6 separate regions of the Homo sapiens genome follow, and all the other regions are linked to region 2. Evidence: promoter capture Hi-C in 16 types of primary human blood cells and fetal thymus (Javierre and others, 2016). All regions are on one chromosome and are shown on one strand. Each heading gives the region's core, a stretch centred on a gene start or on the middle of the fragment in contact. The rest is flanking DNA. Distances are from core to core; before and after follow the strand shown.

Region 1 (3,092 bases), core at 10-2,509, 640 kb before region 2:
ATCTGGGACTTCTCTTCGCAGTGACTGCTCCTGCAGCTGAGCCCTTCCTCCCCCACCCCTTTTCCTTCCTCTCCCTGCCAGGACCTGAGTGTTACCCCTCCGCCCCCTCTCCCCCTCCACGAGATGCTGGGCACAGTGTAGGGCACATGTCTGCCAGTGAGAGCCACACCTTCCACCTGTCCTGCCATCAGGAGCTCTGACCTGGCCTTCCCAGCCATCCTCAGCTGCTCCATGGGTCCCTGAGGTCCTGATTGCAGTGCTGTCACTTGTAACAGGAAGTGAGCTAAGTCCTTATTTCCCCTGCTTGAGGTCCTAGTTAGGACTCAGATCTTTGGGGTTTGATTCAGAAGTGCTTGGCACTTAGGGAGAGCACTTTGACTTTTGGTTTAATTTTTCAATTTACAAATACGTGCTTTCCAATGTAACAGCCACAAAAATAAAACCAAACAAATCCCCTATCTCCCTAGCCTGGAACTCTTCCTGTCACTTGGATGTTGGAGTAGCCTGTGAACCTAACTTATTACAATATGTCTGAGAAAAGCATTTTGAGTTGCAAATGCTGGATTTAAATGTGAAGGTTTGTAACACCACAATCTGTGTTATGGGATGGCCCCCATTTTTATGCTTCAAGCTTATTAACAGGATTACCATTAATAAGCAATAATCTTATCAATAAATTAGACCACTCCTGAAAAACATTAGCACACTTCTAGCATATAGCAAACCTTCAGTAAATGCTAGCTTCTGCTGTCAACACCACCATTGGCATTTTTATGATAGAAAGAGTCATACTTGCTATGCCTATGTTCATATAAATGGTCTATTTAAAAACACAAGGAAGGCTGTGATTGATTCCAAAGAGGTGGAGGTATGGTTTAATACTGCTGATGGAACACTGGCAAATGCTGGGAATCATAACGATGGGCACCCAAAATCAGATCCTGAACTCTGGTAAGTGAGATTAAGTGTAGTGTCTCTGACCACAAATGGAATTGAAGTTTATTCATTTGCTCATTCATTCAATTAGCAAGCATTTATTGAGCACTTACTATGTGCTGTGCTGTGCTATTCAGAAAAGGAAAAGATAGCCATGGATACTCTAGGGAAGGCTTCAGCATTTATGTGGGATTTTTTAAAATAGGCAACCAGAGAGGGTGATAAGTCCAGGCTGCAGCAGCAGGAGGAGTAAAGACAGTCAGAATTGTGACAGGATGTCCTGGGCCACTGCAAGGAAATAGTTTTGTCTTTACTTCTAAACCGTAAAGAATATAAACAAAGCTAAACCCTTCAGACCCTTTGATCCTAAATAACTGACCCTGAGCTAATTTACCAGCCTTCTGATACAGTGTGTATCATCTTGGTGTGTGGCTAAAGCAGCCTGATCCAGGAGCTGGGTTCTGAATGCACTTTGGCCCTGTGCACTCCCATTTAACAGGCGTGGAGTTGAGGGCCTAGGTGACTGGAATCCAGATAGGGAAAGAGGCATCGGTGGACATGGCCCCTGTTCTCAAGGACGCAGCCAGCGTTAGTTCTAACAGTGGGGCAGTGTGAGTGGCCCAGGTGATGATGACCTGTGGTTGCAAGGGGATCCCATATGGCTCAGCATCTTTAAATTAGAAGTGACTCTTTGTAGAAGCTATGTAGGGTGAGTATTGCTTCGCTTTTTGACCATGTTCTTTCTGCTCTTTTGCCAAGATGTTTACAAAAGGTTTTTTGTACCTTTTTTCTGTGCTGGTTTTCTTTCTTGGAGATTAAATGTGAATTCTGCAGTCATAGTATACCTTCTCCTGCTGGTACTTCACCTGCGCTGGATATGGGAAGGTTTTCCATTTCGTGTTGCTGAGGAAATAATAAGTCAGTCTCTCTGGATCATCTTGAATAGATGTTATAAGCTTTAAGGGTCAAATTCTCTGTTTGACTTTATAATTGTATTTTTGTTTCTAAAGATTTTCTCCTGCACCGTTTCTGCATTAACCATTCTGTTGTTTGTTCCCACTCCCCCACCCCCAGCAAATGTTTTTAATTTGGAAAGTATATTTAAAGGTTCAAAGGAATTTAATGAGAAATGAATTCTTTTGTGAGTAATCTTTGTTAAAAAGAGGATACATTATCTCCAGGTTACATAATTTTACTCTTAACTCTGATACTTTTTAGACAATTTTTTTCATTATCTTCCTATCAGAGTTTCTCCCTCGCTCCTCTTCTCTGTAGAGTGATTTAGCAGCTTATTTCCCCTGGTAAGCCACATTCTTCTAATTTACCAAAATACATTGTATGGAACATACTTTGATAAAAATCTGTGTGGACTGGAAAACTTTCCATTGATCCTGGGGAGGGCAGTGTGCATGTTTTAATTCTTCAGCCCCAGCTGTGCCTGGCCTCCTTCAAAGTATTTTGGTCTTTCATTTCAGCCACAATTACAAGTTCATCCGAAAATGATGACCGGAGTGGCTCCAGTTTGGAATGGAATAAAGATGGAAACCTAAGATTAGGGGTTCAGAAGGGAGTGCTTCATGACCGCAGGGCAGATAACTGCTCCCCAGTGGCAGAAGAGGAGACCACCGGGTCAGCAGAGAGCACGCTGCCCAAAGCAGAATCCTCAGCTGGAGATGGTCCAGTCCCTTATTCTCAGGGCTCCAGCTCACTAATAATGCCACGGCCCAACTCAGTTGCAGGTAAGGCCACACCTTTCCCTGGAAGGATTATCTCAGGGATACCAAGGTGCCCTGTGTTCACTGTCTTCACATGGGAAGACACTCCAGATACAAGCCAGCTTCGTGGCCGTGGGTCAGGCACTTACCTTTTCTAAGCCTCAGTTTACTAATCTGTAAACACAATAAGGCTGTACTTAATGGTCTTTAAGTGATCCTTCTGCTCTGGAATTCTTTAAATCGATTATTTGGACTGTCAGGCTCTTTGTATATAAGAGAAGAAAGTATAAAAACTCTCCTCTCGGTTTTTGTTTTAAGCCTTAGAAAATTCATTACTGTTTATTACCTCCTGGTAAATGGGAATTGTTGAGTGAGTTTGTTAATATCAGCTCGAGGATCTTCTTACCAAACTTACAAACTTATTTTTGTCTAATTGAGGCC
Region 2 (3,012 bases), core at 366-2,865:
ATCCTTAAAGCTTCCTGACTGGGAGGAGCTGATTAATTAACATTAATTTATTCATCATGCACTTTTCTAAAGCTCTTGAAAAGCCTATTGATCCACACTGGACTTATCAAAGGAAATGCACAAAAATTTCCAAAGGGAAATTTGCCCTCTATTGCTGGTCAAAACAGCTTCACTGAAGAAGAGACATACCAAAATCTAGAAACTGATTTTCTTTAAAAGTCTGACAAGAAAGAAAAATCTGACAAGAAAATTCGACTAGCCTAAAGTACAAATGCACAGCCTCGCAGAGGGTGGTTTACATGAGAGTTGAGATGTTACTGGCTCGCAAAATGAGGGTGTGCAGAAGGAGGGTTCAGAGACAGCCCAGCTTTGTCTTAGACAAAATTAATGTTCCCAGTCTGAACAATGTGAACATGGGCACATCTTGTTTCTGCCCCTTTGATAGGCAGCAGATGTCACAACCAGTCATAAATGCAGGTCCACAGAAGTTTTCAAGAAAGGAACCTTGGGTTTGTATCCAAGTTCTGAGCTGCTGCTGCCTCCAACACTGAGGTCCACTGAAATATTCCTGTCAGTAGACTTCGAGCAGGCAGTTATTATAAAAACGCAGTGAAATCTGGGGCAAGGGGTGGGGGGGGGGAATCTCTTGCATTTTATTTAAATCTCTTGCACTTTATTTAAGCCCACACAAGTACTCATTTAGTTCTTGTTTATTTTGCTCTTTAATTCCTGGAATTATTCAGTCAGTGGTGTTTTTGGAAGTCTGTGTTCTCCAGAGTCTCCCCATCCACATATTTTTGACATGCTTGTATGGAAATTTTTTAAAAATAAAGACCACGGTCAATAGAATTGTGCATTTTCCTCACGAGTCGTTTTGTAAATGAATGATCACGTGTGTGATTTTTCAGATGTCACTTGCACAACAGCAGACTAGAACTTTAAAACTCCTTGATTTCAGTGAAATCCAAGCTTTGCCTATTCCCGTTCCTCTTCCATCCAGGGGTTATTTGGCTGAACTGTTTTCCTGTTTAAACAACTTGAACACCAACCAACTAGACAAACAGCGCTGCTTGCAAAAGAGGGCCTACTTCCTCCGGCCCCCACCCCCATCCCAGCAACCCCACTCCGGCCGCGCACCAGCAGGGGAAATCGCCACCAACGTCCCCGCTTCTCATTTCAGCCCGAAATTGCCCTGAAACGGCGCCCGTCGTGCGACTCCAAGTCCCTCAGTTCTCCGGCCAACTGGCCTAATTTGGGGGTTCCCTCCCCGCGGAGTGGGGTCTGCGGTGAGGATGTGGACTCCGAGGAAGACAGAGCCCTCCCTTATTCTCGGCCACCTCCCCTCCCCGAGGGCAGGCGGGTGAGAGGTGACCCGGAGCCAGGACCCACGGGGGACGGGCGTGCAGGGAAGGGCGGGATGGCCGGCCGGGTGTTGCGTCTGCGGGCCGCCCTCGGGTGCGCGGGGACGAAGAGCGTGCGTTGGGAAGGGGGCGAAGGCGGTCGCGCACGGTCCCGGCGAGGGACTACGTAAGGGCTTACCCGCGACGGCAGCAGCGGCGAGGCCCAGCAACGGCAGCAGGAGCGCGGGCAGCGCGGCCCGGAGCATGACGGCGGGTGCGGGTGGGCGGCAGCGGCTGCGCGGCCGGAGAGGAGCGGGGCGGGGCGGGAGCGGGGGCGGTGCTTCTCGCGTGCGAGTTTAATCCCCCCCCCGGGCGGAACGTGAACGGCACTGGGGGCTCCCACCAGGAGAACCCGGGTGTCCCGTCCCGCAGGAGCGGCTGGCGCGCGGCCTTCTGGAACTTCTAATTTTTGTTTTTTAAACTTTTCATTTGAATTGAAATAATTTAGGACTTTCGAAAATGTTGCAAAAACAGCACAAGAGATTTCCGTAACCCTTCAGCCAGCTTCTCTAAATATTGACATTGTATATAACGCCAGTGCAGTGATCAAACACAGGGCACTCGCACTGGGATAATGCGATTAGCTAATCTACAGCACTTACCACATTTCATTAATTGCCCCTCTAAGGGTCCTTTTCTGTTCCAAGATTCAATCCAGGATCATACATTGCATGTCGTGTCTCCTTAGTCTCCCTTTAATCTAGGACGGTTCTCTGTCATTCTTTTTCTTTCACGATCAAACCACATTTAAAAAGTACTGGCCAGTCGTTTTGTAGAATGTCCCTCAGTTTCATTTTGTCTGACATTTCCTTCTAATTGGATTCAGGTTGCGCTTTTTTGGGAAAGAGTTCCCCAGAAGTGATGTACGTGCTCGAGAAGGACAAGATGTCGATGTCTCATCACTGATGTTAACTTGGATCAGTTGGTTAAGGTGGCGTTTGCCAGCCTTCTTCTTTGGATCTACTGGCCAGAATCCTCCTTTTCAAAGACCCCTTTCAGTGGACTATGTCTCTTAGACAACTTTTCTCTGTTACCAGCTCCTGGATGAAGAGTCTTTAAGCTATGTTTGCTACAATGTATGCATAAACTGTGCAATTATACTTCACCCATGAGGGCCTCTGGACAACACTAGCCAGGGTCAAGCAAGGGTGCTTGTTTAAGCCTCATGTCATTGGCAAAAGAGTTCTATAAAATCAAGTCTAAACTCAACAACGTGAAAACAAATGACCCAGTTAAAAAAAATGGTCAGATGATCTGAATACACACGTCATCAAAGAAGTTATATAATGGCAAATAGATGAAAAGATGCTCAACATCATATGTCATTGCTGAATTGTATATGAAAACAAAAATGAAATACCACTACATACCTATTAGATACCAGAATCCAAAAACACTGACAAGACCACATGCTGGCAAAGATGTGGAGCAAAAAGAACTCTCATTCAATGCTGGTGCAAATGCAAAATGGTACAGCCACTTTGGAAGACAATTTGGAAGCTTCTTCCAAAACTAAACGTACTCTTACCATACCATCTAGCAATCACAACTCCTTGGTATTTATCCAAATGAGTTAAAAACTTACATACACACAAAAACCTGCACATGAATG
Region 3 (3,334 bases), core at 647-3,146, 830 kb before region 2:
TTCTACTTGCTACTTAAGGAGCTTTGAGAGTAGAGGGAAAAAAATTGCACTGCCTTCAAAGCCCTATTTAACTAAGCAATTTCATCAAAAATTTGGAAATACAGCTGAGAAGAGCCAAAACCAGAAAAATGTGGTACAAATGATAAATTTCATCCATTATACCTTTCTCCCATTATAAAGAAGTCTGGAGCAGGAAATCTTACCAGTCTATTTTCTTAGGATTGTTTCTCTTATATTTTAATATTTCAGATTAGTTAGACTGCTTGGAGTTTTTGTCTTTTGTTTGCATCATTCTTTTATCATTAAGGTTGCTGTCTGGCTTTTTTGTCTGTTGAAAGATTTCGTTTCAAGATAAATTAAATAAAACATTACCATATTTTTCAGCAATGAAACATTTCAGATGGAGAAAGAAGTCAATAGTTTTCTGGTTTAAGTTTGTATTTTTATTTTCAATATTCTATCCTGCCTTGTTTCGGGAATACTTCAAGGCCGCTGATGTGTTTACTGCTCAAATATCAACACAGCAGTAATCAGGCCTTTGAAACTATGGGTGAAAAATCCAGTCCATTTCAGTCTTTTTAATTTATGAAAAGAGATTGTGTGGCATTTTGCTTCCTGTCCCTTTTCATAAGAACTTTAAATATGGACACCCCTCCTGCTGGTGTCTTTATATAGGGAAGCTCTGCGTGAGGTTGAAGTTTTTATGAGGAAACTTGTTTAAAACACAATCGTATTTTAAGGCGGGTTTGCCACAGCAAGGTTAGGGGTTACCAATAAATCGGTTTACAGCAACTTCTCTATTCTCTGCTCCAGACACACCAATGGGGTGACCCGTGCACAATTCCCGCTGGCCACACAAGGCAGCGGCAGTTCTAGTTGATCCTTCCTTCGTCAACTAGATCAACGAAGGCTGTCTTAGAGAGCTTCGGGTATTAAGTGAGCAGAGTCCCTTAGGCCAATTTGGCTGCCTGGGATTCCTGGGAGGATCTTGGAGAACCCAGGACACCCGAATCCCTAGTCCCTATCCTGGTTTTTGCTCTGCTGGAGAATAACAAAACATTTTGGGAACTCAGGAGTTTAATTTACTGCCACCAACCGACAAAATAATAGCATCTTTGTGTGTTCTCTCCCCTCCGTCCCTCCCACCTCCTTCCGACAGAAGCACGACGCTGGCCCTCTGTGAATGTAGCGCAGACAGCACGGGCCAGCCCGGAGCGGTCGCAGGAGGCTCCAGACCCGCGGCCCCAGGGACGCCCGGGAAATCACCGGCCCCAGAACGTCCCCCATTCCTTTTGGGAAATAAAAAGACGCAGCCGGTGAGATGCCTTCTTAGACCTTCCAGCTCATTTAGCTGATTCTGGCCCCAGAAAGTGTGTTTGTGTTTGTGTGTAGTTAAGTGAGGCAGAGAAAATCCAAGAAAGCCGCACAAGCCACCCCAAAGCGTCCACGGAAACTCCAGCTCGGTTAATTGCTCCCATATGTCCTCCTCGGCTGTGGTAAAAAAGCAGCGAGGAGGGAAGGCCGGGTCGCTTTATTGATTTTGAAGAGGCTGTAAAAAAGACTATGGCCCATCTCATTTTGGTCCCAGAGGGGCCTAGGCGCAGCCCCGGGGGACCCGGTGCCCAGAGGGATGGTAGGGTGCTTCAGGCCCGGACCTGGCGCCGAGAGGCGGGACAAGGGGACCTCGCGCCCAAGCCCCGCGGAAAGTTCGCGCTCCGCGCTCCAGCCGGTCCCTGGATCCGCCGCAGCCCGGGGCGGGGAGGGGCGCGGGAGGCGCGGCCGGGGCGGGCGCGCGAGAGGAAGGTGCCTTCGGGAACACGCGCAAGGGCGGGGATTCGCGCTGCCAATGAGGCCCCGGTGTGGGCCGAGCAAGGCGGGGGGACGGGCCGGAGCGGAGGCTTTGCTGTGGCAGCTGCTGGAGCGGCGGCCGCCTCGGGAGCCGGAGGAGAGGCAGCCGCGGAGCGCCGAGCTGGCCTCGCCCCGAGGCCCGGCCCTGGGTGTGGGGAACCGCGCTGAGGAGCTGGAAACTTTCCCGGCAGGTAACTCCCGCAGCCCGGACTCCGCCGCGGGCCTGCGAGCGCCCCGGGCATGGCCAGCTGCCAGTGTGCGGAGAGGTCGAGAGGGACCCGGGGTGGAGAGGGTGATGGGAGAAGGGAAAGGCGTGTGGGAAAGTTTCTGGAGCGCCCCCTCCTCCGCCGGGCACACCCGGGAGCTTTCCGGGAATAGGCACAGACATGTTGGGCGCCCCGGGCCTTGGTCTCTCGGCGGCTTTGGGGAGTCCGCACCTTCCTTGCGCGGTTCCCCCGCGCCGGACCGAGCCGGCCTCCCCTGGAACCGGTGTGGTGGGAACCGGGAACGCTTGGGGCACGCTCGAGTTCTGGGACCACCCCCGCCCGGCGCGCCCGCTCGCCCCCTTTCCCGCCTTCTCTGTAGCCCTCGGGCTTGGCAAGGGCCTGGGCTACGCCTGGTACCTGGCGCGGGGGAGGCGGGGGGAGGCGCGCCTGGCACCGCGGGGTCCTGGGCGCCCCCCGGAGTGTTGGGGTGCGCGGGTCGCGAAGTTGCCGAGAGAACTTAAGCCGGAGGCATGGTATTGCCCCAGTCTGGGCTGAAAGTCTATTGCTTTGCTTCCAAGAACACTGCGATTAGCATATCCACACTCCTTTATTGGGGGTGGGGGTGAGTTAGGATTAGACGTTGGGGGTTTTTCTTTAGGGGTGGGGCGCTGAGAAGAGCGGTAATTGTCAAGATTGTGAGCCCCCTTGTTCTTGGATGCAGAGTGGTCATTTTCGGGGGACGATATCAGGGCACTGGCTTCCTGGAGGACTTTGGGGTGCGGGCGCGCAGCGCTGTGGGTGTGCGGGGCTCCCGGCTTTGGCGCGGCGGCTTTCCGGAACGCCTGGCTGGGAAGGAAGCTCTAGGCATTGTGTGGTGTGTTTGCAGACAGAAAGGTCCCTGGACCGGTGTTCTCAAAACTTACTGGACTTATTGTGTAAAGCTCCGGGAGGAAATGTGGCGTTGGCCAGGTAGAAACGCGGCGCTGCGGCCAAGGGGCGGAGGACGCCAGGCTCGGCAACGGCCTTCTCCCAGCCCCCTCCTGCCAGCTCCAGATCCGCGTGCCTCCAGTGTTGGGACCGTTCTCAGTGGCGTTGTTCCCTGCTGGAGTTAACTTGGGAGGTGAGGAGGGAACTTTCATCTTGAACTTGACCCCAGAAGCAGCGTCGTCCGTACAGGTTACAAGGTAAATGGAAGCTGAGTCTTAACGTGGGTTGGACCGCAAACTCTGGCTGGCGCGGAAAGGAAGTTCCTGGTTCAGAATCTTTGAGGAAAGGGCTCA
Region 4 (3,431 bases), core at 742-3,241, 580 kb before region 2:
GTCCTTGTAGATAGTGATTGGCATCCCTCCTCCCCCAAATTACCATTTCTCTCTGGTATGTGTATATTTAGTTGATAACAGCAATGAATTGGGCATGTTAAAAAGAGTGCATATTTTGGAAAAGGTTCTGTTCAAAGGAATACAGTGGAAAGATTTTCCAGGCCCCATGGTTCACACAACTTACAGATTTTTGAAAGAAAGTCATTTGACTATTTTTAAAGGTTGAGAAACCTGCCTGGGTATAGCAGGTGTGGTGGAAAATGCAGCAGGAGGATGGTAATTCCAAATGTCTCTTCCAGATTGTTAGACTGCTGTTGGAACGCGGCTGTGATGTGAACCTAAGTGACAAGCAAGGCCGGACGCCCCTCATGGTGGCTGCTTGTGAAGGGCACTTGAGCACCGTGGAATTCCTCCTTTCAAAAGGTAGCAGCGTGATGCCCTCAAAGGTTTCTTTTGGACGGACACAGAGAGAACTTCAGCAGACCCATTCAGTGCTTTCTGATTCAAATTCTAAGTTTTCTGTTAATGGAAATTTTCTAATAAACAGTAGAGAGAATAGGCAACACAGCCACATGCCTGGTATTCCTCTTCAGCAGCGATGACCATTCTGCCAGCCCATCCGGCCAGTGTCACCCTTCACAGTGCTTGACTGACACTTGGTTCAGGCCGGGTGTTCCGCAGGTGTGAAACAATTTGCTTTCTGGCTTTGTCATCTCATAATGTTCATGTTCTGTGAATGGGCTTTCCTTTCAGGTGCAGCCCTTTCTTCTCTAGACAAAGAGGGTCTGTCAGCATTAAGCTGGGCTTGTCTGAAAGGTCACAGGGCAGTGGTCCAGTATCTGGTTGAAGAAGGAGCTGCAATAGACCAGACAGACAAGAATGGCCGCACACCCTTGGACCTGGCTGCCTTCTATGGCGATGCCGAGACTGTGAGTACCAGCAGGTGTTCCCCACCTCCACCTGCATTGGAAAGAAACCCCAGGAAGTGAACAGCTCAATCCAGGGCCTGCATGAGGTTGTGTCTCAGTGTCATCAGAGAGTGTGTGTGTGTGTGTGTGTGTGTGTGTGTGTGTGTGTGTGTGTCTTGTCAGGGATCTTTCATTTTTCTCTAATTCTGTGACATGCAGTCTATTCCAGGACTTAAGATTTTAGTCGACTCTTAAAAGCTTAAAAATACCTGCTTGCAAATAGCACATACAACAGACACATACGTGAATATGCATACACATGTGCATATGTGATTTTCTCAGTCATCCATATAAATAAAACTTTTGCATAGATCATTTAGAAACTACTTTTATATATGGTAAGTGACTAATCAAATGACTACCTGGTTGCTTTTTTTTTTTAAGTTGTTTTGTTTTTAATTTATTAATTTTTTTTTCCCAAGATGGAGTCTTGCTCTGTTGCCCAGGCTGGAGTGCAGTGGTGCGATCTCGGCTCACTGCAACTTCCGCCTCCTGGGTTCAAGCAGTTCTCCTGCCTCAGCCTCCTGAGTAGCTGGGATTACAGGCATGCACCACCATGCCTAATTTTTGTATTTTTAGTAGAGACAGGGTTTCACCATGTTGGCCAGGCTGGTCTTGAACTCCTGACCTCATGATCCGCCTGCCTCAGCCTCCCAAAGTGCTGGGATTACAGGCGTAAGCCCCTGCACCTGGCTTATTATTAATTTTTGAGACACAGTCTTGCTCTGTTGCCCAGGCTGGAGTGCAGTGGTGTGATGACTGCAGCCTTGTTCTCCTGGTCTCAAGAGGTCCTCCCACCTCAGCCCCCTGAGTAGCTGGGAATACAGGCATGCACCACCGTACCTGGCTAATTTTTAGAGACACGGTTTTTCACCATGTTGCCCAGGCTGGTCTCGAACTCCTGGGCTCAAGTGATCACCCCACCTTGGCTTCTGAAAATGGTAGGATTACAGGCATGAGCCACCATGCCCGGACAAAGTTTTATTTTTAATTGACAAATGATTGTGTATATTTATGGGGTACAGTGATGTTTTGATACTTGTACACATTGTGGAATGATCAAATCAGGCTAATTCATGTATCCATCACCCAAATAGTATTTCTTTTTGGTGAGAGCATTTGAGATCTCTTTTAGCTATTTTGAAATAAAGAATACATTACTGGCCGGGTGCGGTGGCTCATGCCTGTAATCCCGGCACTTTGGGAGGCCAAGATGGGCAGATCACTTGAGGTCAGGAGTTCGAGATTAAGCGAACTTGAGGTCAGGAGTTCGAGATCAAGTGAACTAGTAGATACTATTTTAGTATCTACTAAAAATACAAAAATTAGCTGGGCGTGGTGGCGGGTGCCTGTAATCCCAGCTACTCAGAAGGGTGAGGCACGAGAATCACTTGAACCCGGGAGGTGGAGGCTGCAGTGAGCCAAGATCATACCATTGCACTCCAGCCTGGGCAACAGAGTGAGACTCAGTCTCAAAAAAATAATAAATAAAAGTTATTAATTCTAGTTGCAGTACTGTGCAGTAGATACCAGAAGTTACTCCTCCTGTCTAACTGAATCTTCGTACCCTTTGACCGGTGCCTACCCTTTCCGCAGGTCCCCCTGTCTCCCAGCCTCTTTCTGTTCTCTGCTTCTGTTGTGAGTTCAACTTGTTTAGATTCCACATATAAGTGAGATCATGCTGTCTTTCCGTGCCTGGCTTATTTCACTTAGCCATAATGTCCTTCAGCTTCATCCATGTTGTGGCTAATGACAGGATTTCCTTATTTTAAAGCCTGCATAGTATTTCATCATGTACATATACTGGTTGTTTTTAAAGTGATATGGCATTGCCTAAAAATAATATGGAAAGCTTTGGGCACTATCTTTATCTCTTTGCCAAATGCCCATGTCTAATCGAGGTTTGAGGGAATAAAACCTTGATAAACTGAGAACCGTGAAATGTCTTTCAGGGCAGAAACTGATTTTATCAGGCTCCATGTCCCAGGCACCCAGCAGGTGCCAGAGAAATGGTCAGCTACATGAGAGTTACCAGTTTCCAATAATTCAATACATCTAATGGAAGGACTAGCTGGAGAGACAGATGCTTGCAAACCTGGCAGTGGAAGCCATGGCCCTGTACCTCTGTGCCTTGGTGCTTTTAGAAGGCAGCGCTGTCAGAGTTCAATGGTATAAACTTCAGTACCTTGTAAACTCTACTTCATGTCAGTTTTCAAAAACATACTCAACTAAATCTCACATGTCTACACTTATTTTTCAGCTACCTTCCCACATTGTGTAGTTTATCAAAATTAGAGAAGAGTGAAGGAGCTTAGCATTCCAACATAATTTTTTTAATACCGTGGCAAAAACACATAGCATAAAATTTACCCTTAATCATTTCTAAACATATAGAGTTCAGTAGTTTAAGTATATTCACATTGTTGTACAACCAGTATCCAGAACTTTTCATCTTGCAAAGGT
Region 5 (3,336 bases), core at 334-2,833, 540 kb before region 2:
TATTTAAGGGCTTGTTGCAGAACCAATATCTTACTTGCGTAACTATTTTAGCATTTGTGAAAATATTTATGTTCTTAGTCATACTAAACAGAAAAAATATATACTTTTTCTACCAGGCCTAACTTGAAGTTCAGTAGTCTAATAAACATAACTTTCATAGATCACCACAAGATTTTTAAATACTTACAGTATCATATACTATGACAGACTTATCCACTGACCTTAAAAGAAAATAAATTATAGGTGAAAAGTTCTATAAAAACAAAGTACAGCATTTATGTAATTAGTATTTTTAAGTAATTTTAGTAACTTTTCTAGAAAAGACAGATATTAACATACATTTAGAATGCAATCCTTTTGTTCATATGCATGAAAACTTTAATTCAAAAAACTACACGTGGCCAGGCGCAGCGGCTCACGCCTGTAATCCCAGCACTTTGGGAGGTTGATTCGAGCGGATCATGAGGTCAGGAGTTTGAGACCAGCCTGGCCAACATGGTGAAACCCATGTCTACTAAAAATACAGAAAAAAATTATCCGGGCATGGTGGCGTGCACCTGTAATCCCATCTCCTTGGTAAGCTGAGGCAAGAGGATGGCCTGAACCTGGGAGGTGGAGGTTACAATGAGCCAAGATCATGCCACTGTACTCCAGCCTGGGTGGCAAAGTGAGACTCTATCTCAAAAAAAACAACATGCCATATATAAAATTTAGAAAATTATAAGCTTTATTAAAACAATAGTATATACTATTTACGCTACATGACCATGAACAGAACAAGCATCTCTGATATATAAATAAAACACGACTCTATAACAAGTTAGTAACTGAATGGGAAAAACCACAAGGAAAAGCTATTATTTGCTACTTGGTTTTGTTTCAGATAGCACTATTCTTTACCATTGATAAGGCGTGCCTTAAATGCTAATCAATGTATATATGTTTTGATTATGATCCATTTTTGAAAATTATAATTCTAAACTTGATGTTGACTACATGATTCCTTGTAATGGTATAAAAATTAAAAGCAGACATCTGGGGTTATGCTAGCAAAGAAAAAGAACATCACACACACAAAAATACAACATTATAACAAAATGAGTAATTTAAAACAATGGATAAATATGCCTCTATCTGGCATTTCTACCCCCCTTGGAAACAGGCTTTTATGCCAGAACAATATACACTACAAGGTGAAAAAACATCTGCAATACAAGTGGTACCACACTCTGCAGAACATTAATATTTGTACTTATTAAGGGAGCTGATCACAGTCTGACCACAGGATTCACACCTATTAGCTTAAAATTCCTTGTTCAGTAGACCCTCCAATGTTGATGATGGATACTGACTACAGAATCTTTGTCATAAGTTCAAAATAGAAATTATACTTTAAAAGTTCAAAGATATAAAATAAAACACAAGAACTTGGGAAGCATATACTGTCAGCCCTCCATATCCACAGGTTTCCTATCTGTGAATTCAACCATGAATCAAAATATTCAAGAAAAACATAATAAATTGAAATAGGAAAAAAATAACAAAAAATAATACAAATAAAAATACTGCAAAACTATTTACATAGCCCTTACATTGTATTAGGTATTATAAGTAATCTAGAGATGATTTAAAGTATATGGATAATGTGTGTAGGTTACATGCAAATATCACACCATTTTATATAAGGGACTTGAGCATCCACAGGTTTTGGTATCCAAGGTAGCAGTCCTGGACCCAATCCCCTGCAGATACCAACGGATAACTGTAATGCATTCCAGATGCAAAAAGAATTATAGCTTTCAATGTTAAACTGCATCCAAAATACAGTGAGAAATAGTATTGACAGCTAACACTACGTGAGTATGTATGTGATGGACATAATTTACAGACACTTTTATTTAATCCTAAGTTCTTCAAGGTACAAGTTCTTATTTGTGAAATATCTGAAATTCTTAGGCCAAATTCTGCTATTTTGAGCATCCTTAAAACACACACACAACTAAAGAGTGATGTCAGCAAGATGGCAGAGTATAACTTCCCATGCTTGTCCCCTCACAGGGACATCAATTTGAAAAAGTATCCACACACACACAAAAATACTTTCATAACAGCTAAGAAAACCAGGTCTCCAGCTATAGCTACATGGCTGGGGGTCAGGAGCATGTTAAATATTACTTTTCAAGATTATATGATGAGATGAAAGGAAAACTGGTCAACTGAAACTCATATATATATATATATATATATATATATATATATATATATATATATATATTTTTTTTTTTTTTTTTTTTTTTTTTTTTTTTTAAATAAATGAACTGGTCATTGGGTGAACTGGCTTTTGGTTAATTGACCTAGAGCCCAGTTCTGCTTAAGCCTGACTTTTCTAAAGGGATAATTAGCCAAAATTTCATCTGGAGCTGGCTAGAGCCCAGCCATGCTAAGCTTACAAAGAAAATGGTTCTCTCATCTGGCCCCCATTACACTGTCTCAAATAAAATCCTCATTGGTACCACAAATCAAAAACAAAACCCCAAAATTAAAAAGAAATCCCACTTTCCTAGACTACCACCAGAGACAATTCAAACCAACTCATCACTTAATAAGCAGGATTATCCTTAGTGATCTCTATGAGCATTGGATTGGGAAGACAGAAATCAGTGCGACAGGCAAGAGTCCACATATGGGAACGGCAAGCAGTAAGGCTGAAAACACAGCCCCGAACAAAAATACAAAGCACCCTGAGTGTCTGCCCAAGGAATCTGGACGATTTCACAGGCCACAGCTAGCCATGAGGGCAGTGGAATAAGTTCACTTGCTGATGAGGTATAAAAAGGAATTTGAGAAGCGCAAGGCCAAACATGAATAAACCAGTAGGAGACCACTGAATCCATGGAAAAAAAAACAAAAAACGAAAATTATAAACACATGAACAGACCTGCAGGCTCTGGAAGAAAGGATTTTAAACTCACTTCCTATTGCCTTTAGTTTAACTAATGATGATTCCAAGGAAGATGCAATAGGATTTGATAATTCATTAGATTTTGAGGAAGGTAAATTAGGGTTAGGGAAAAATAACAGAAGTTTTCAATATTTTGAGATTTGAGTTTGAGAGATCAGGAGAATAAAAGCCAACTTACATAGACACAAAATAGTTTGAAACTACTGAAGCAATAAAAACCCTCAAAATATTCCCTAAATTGAAGCCAAATCAACAACCACTAAACAAAAAATCCAACTGTTTGGTGTCCCTGGTTATGTATTTTCTTCCTGCTATAGTTCCTCCCCCAAATTTTCAGTACATACATTCTGCCACAATCTGCCCTGTCATCTTTC
Region 6 (3,105 bases), core at 52-2,551, 520 kb before region 2:
CATCCACTAACACGGAAAATGAAAACTCTAAAGAAAGAACTTTCCAAATCACTGTACCTATTTAAAACCAAGAGACTACATTCAGGAGTTCTGTTTATTTCTAAAAAACTAATTGTGTTGGCAAACATTTTATAAATTTAGCTTTTCGAAGATTAAATTAGTAAATGGAAAACACAGCTTCTATTTCCAATTTTTAAAGTTTACATTTCTACTTGAATATCAATATAGTGTTCTTTTAATTGCAATTGTATCAATAGGGTTAGGTCCTCTAAATTGCCATATCCAAGGAATCTGAATCTGTTGTACCAATTTGAGCCACCCCCTGCATATAATAAAGAATGTAATTTTCTTGCAGGAAACTCCAAGACCAAAAAAAAAGAATGCAATTTTCTCATATATTTTTTCATGATTTCATTTTTGGTCAAAAAAGAGAGAAGGATAATCCCTTTACAGGAATAAATTAAGAGGGCTCCTCACTCTACTAATGATAACATAAAAAAGAATAAAAGAATGAAAAGTCATATACAGCACAAATTACAAATAGGAATTTCTAGTGCTTAAAAGAATAAAATAACCAACCAGAAACTGGCTGTGAAGAAAAATCGCAGCAGGTAATTCCAAGATCATGTGCTTTTTCACTATGCAGACACCTCATTTTATCATCCCACACTGTTAAATCACCACATGAGGAGCCAGTGACAAAGAAGCTTCCATTAGGAGAAAATGCACATGCCGCCAAGGAGCCATCTTTAACACTACCACATCTGAAATAAAAGCAAAAAGTGGGTTTTCATTTCAGAGTATCCTTTACTTTATACCACAGTCTCTAACAGCAGCTTGATACAGTGAAAAGAGAATAAATGGCTATCACAGAACTAGAGAGAAAGGACAACTGATGCCTACAGAAATAAAATATCATTTATATGCTATGAACTGAGATATACTGTCTAAAAGCAAGGGAGGATTTAAATATCCTCCCTTAAACATTTTAACTGGTATGTTCAAGCCTAAATTACAAACCAAAGTCCACATATCTTCATATTTTTCCACAGGGCAAATCAGTATAAACACATTAAAATATGTAAAACTTAACCAGAAAAGCAATGACAAGCAACATCAACTACAGCCATATTTTTTAAAAAAGGTAAGATAAAACTATTTTTATTGGAAAATATGTTATTGGAGTCAAAGGTACTTACAACGTCTGTATTAAAAATTACCCAGAAGTGGCCGGGCGCGGTGGCTCACGCCTGTAATCCCAGCACTTTGGGAGGCCGAGGCGGGCGGATCACGAGGTCAGGAGATCGAGACCATCCCGGCTAAAACGGTGAAACCCCGTCTCTACTAAAAATACAAAAAATTAGCCGGGCGTAGTGGCGGGCGCCTGTAGTCCCAGCTACTTGGGAGGCTGAGGCAGGAGAATGGCGTGAACCCGGGAGGCGGAGCTTGCAGTGAGCCGAGATCCCGCCACTGCACTCCAGCCTGGGCGACAGAGCGAGACTCCGTCTCAAAAAAAAAAAAAAAAAAATTACCCAGAAGCAATGGCGAGGTCTTCAAATATAAATTATTTATGAAAGGAAAATGCTGTGGGCAAGTTAAAATTACGTTAGGAAGACAGGGAGGCACGGTGCTGAAGTATTAGTATTTGCTCAATTAGGAAAAATAAGCTGTTAAAAACCCAACAATTAACACACTGTCCCATCCAGCAGGGTATCTATCATTTATATATAATTAATTACATAGTTTAGGGATAGTTATGCTATAGAGCCAGAAGTCATCATTGGATAAGTAAGATTCCTAGTTGACAGCTGGATTTCATGCATATAAAAAAGATATTTGGCATAAGTGTTTATTAACACCACTTAAAACATGTCACCCTCTTCAACCCAAAGACCTAAGCTTAAATGAGCAATAGTTGTTGACCAACTAGCATTTGTGCTCTAAAAGATGTTGGGAGACAGAAGGAGGGGGAGGTACACTAGGCTCTTTTAATTGGTAATTACTTAAAAGCGCATGGTTTCTAATGTACTTAATGTCATCTAAAAGTGTTAGCGTGAAAATTTTAACTTTTTTTTTTGAGACAGGGTCACTCAGTCACTCAGGCTGGGGTACAGTAGTGCAATCCTAGCACACTGCAGCCTCAAACACCTGGGTTCAGGCGATCCTCTGACCTCAGCCTCTGGAGTAGCGAGGACTACAGGCACACGCCACCACGCCTAGCTAATAAAAATGATAACTTCTGTTACGTATATTTTGCCACAATATAAATAAATGTGAATAGTTTTAATGTTGTTAAATTGCAATACAACATTACCAATGTAAATTAATTGGTTTTTTCCAAAAGAGTTTTTCAGGCGAGTTTTTAAGAAATGATAACACATCACCACCACACCAGGCATGAGGTTCCTTCTTCTGGGCTTGGTCATTCATCCAGCAAGAATTGCAGTCACAGAAATAACTGCATCTCTTAGCTGAGCTTTACATACTATTAAAGCTTTACATACTATGGGCCGGGCGCAGTGGCTCATACCTGTAATCCCAGCCCTTTGGGAAGCCAGCTGAAGCGGGTGGATCACATGAGGTCAGGAGTTCAAGAGCAGCCTGGCCAACATGGGGAAACCCAGTCTCTACTAAAAATACAAAAAACTGGCTGGGCATGGTGGCAGGAGTCTGTAATCCCAGCAACTCGGGAGGCCGAGGCAGGAGAATCGCTTGAACCTGGGAGGTGGAGGTTTCAGTGAACTGAGATCCCACCACTGCACTCCAGCCTGGGCAACAAGAGTGAAACTCTGTCTCAAAAAAGAAAGAAAACACTTAAACCACAAGTGACAAAAATAAAGCCTAAAATTACTGAACCTTCAAAATACTGCTTTAACTCTTACAATTAAAAAAAAAACCATAAAAGTCTAACAAGATTAACTCTTAATTTTAAGATTGGCGCTAAGCAAATCTACTATAAGAATCATATTAAACAACTCTCTGGGTTTTTGACCTTTAGAAGGCCAGTTAAAAAAAATTTTTTTTTTTTTGAGACGGAGACTCGGTCTGTCACCCAGGCTGGAGTACAGTGGTGTGATCTCGGCTCACTGCAAGCTCCGCCTCCTG

What was found. Contacts are between HindIII fragments. The CHiCAGO score rates a contact against its expected background, and 5 or more counts as called.
Region 1: a fragment that was not itself captured here is called in contact with the fragment with the promoter of CD302 in region 2 in 1 of 17 cell types (megakaryocytes); the score reaches 5.2 in megakaryocytes.
Region 3: the fragment with the promoter of TANC1 here is called in contact with the fragment with the promoter of CD302 in region 2 in 1 of 17 cell types (megakaryocytes); the score reaches 5.8 in megakaryocytes.
Region 4: a fragment that was not itself captured here is called in contact with the fragment with the promoter of CD302 in region 2 in 1 of 17 cell types (erythroblasts); the score reaches 6.2 in erythroblasts.
Region 5: a fragment that was not itself captured here is called in contact with the fragment with the promoter of CD302 in region 2 in 1 of 17 cell types (erythroblasts); the score reaches 5.2 in erythroblasts.
Region 6: a fragment that was not itself captured here is called in contact with the fragment with the promoter of CD302 in region 2 in 4 of 17 cell types (endothelial precursors, total B cells, monocytes and 1 more); the score reaches 6.4 in endothelial precursors.

What each region holds. Positions count from the first base shown.
Region 1 is chr2:159,160,872-159,163,963 of GRCh38, forward strand. TANC1 (tetratricopeptide repeat, ankyrin repeat and coiled-coil containing 1) reads left to right here. Exons shown (of 27, transcript NM_033394.3): 8 at 2,412-2,675. Among named protein-coding and RNA genes, the nearest start is that of MIR6888, 24 kb to the right of the region's middle. The HindIII fragment of the contact is 1,261 bases long and covers 630-1,890 here.
Region 2 is chr2:159,796,593-159,799,604 of GRCh38, forward strand. CD302 (CD302 molecule) reads right to left here and starts at 1,616. Exons shown (of 6, transcript NM_014880.5): 1 at 1,540-1,616. The coding sequence starts at 1,606. All of the region lies in intron 33 of LY75-CD302 (LY75-CD302 readthrough), which reads right to left. It overlaps LOC124906083 (a long non-coding RNA gene), which reads left to right. Exons shown (of 2, transcript XR_007087273.1): 1 at 1-1,360; 2 at 2,227-3,012. The HindIII fragment of the contact is 1,931 bases long and covers 968-2,898 here.
Region 3 is chr2:158,966,744-158,970,077 of GRCh38, forward strand. TANC1 (tetratricopeptide repeat, ankyrin repeat and coiled-coil containing 1) reads left to right here and starts at 1,897. Exons shown (of 27, transcript NM_033394.3): 1 at 1,897-2,039. RefSeq lists silencers at 1,683-1,792, 1,853-1,932. The HindIII fragment of the contact is 11,476 bases long and covers 1-3,334 here.
Region 4 is chr2:159,218,939-159,222,369 of GRCh38, forward strand. It overlaps TANC1 (tetratricopeptide repeat, ankyrin repeat and coiled-coil containing 1), which reads left to right. Exons shown (of 27, transcript NM_033394.3): 21 at 300-423; 22 at 754-929. Among named protein-coding and RNA genes, the nearest start is that of MIR6888, 34 kb to the left of the region's middle. The HindIII fragment of the contact is 1,654 bases long and covers 1,165-2,818 here.
Region 5 is chr2:159,259,623-159,262,958 of GRCh38, forward strand. It overlaps WDSUB1 (WD repeat, sterile alpha motif and U-box domain containing 1), which reads right to left. Exons shown (of 11, transcript NM_001128212.3): 6 at 188-221. Among named protein-coding and RNA genes, the nearest start is that of WDSUB1, 25 kb to the right of the region's middle. The HindIII fragment of the contact is 1,720 bases long and covers 724-2,443 here.
Region 6 is chr2:159,279,182-159,282,286 of GRCh38, forward strand. WDSUB1 (WD repeat, sterile alpha motif and U-box domain containing 1) reads right to left here. Exons shown (of 11, transcript NM_001128212.3): 3 at 580-764. Among named protein-coding and RNA genes, the nearest start is that of WDSUB1, 6.0 kb to the right of the region's middle. RefSeq lists an enhancer at 861-1,030. The HindIII fragment of the contact is 1,192 bases long and covers 706-1,897 here.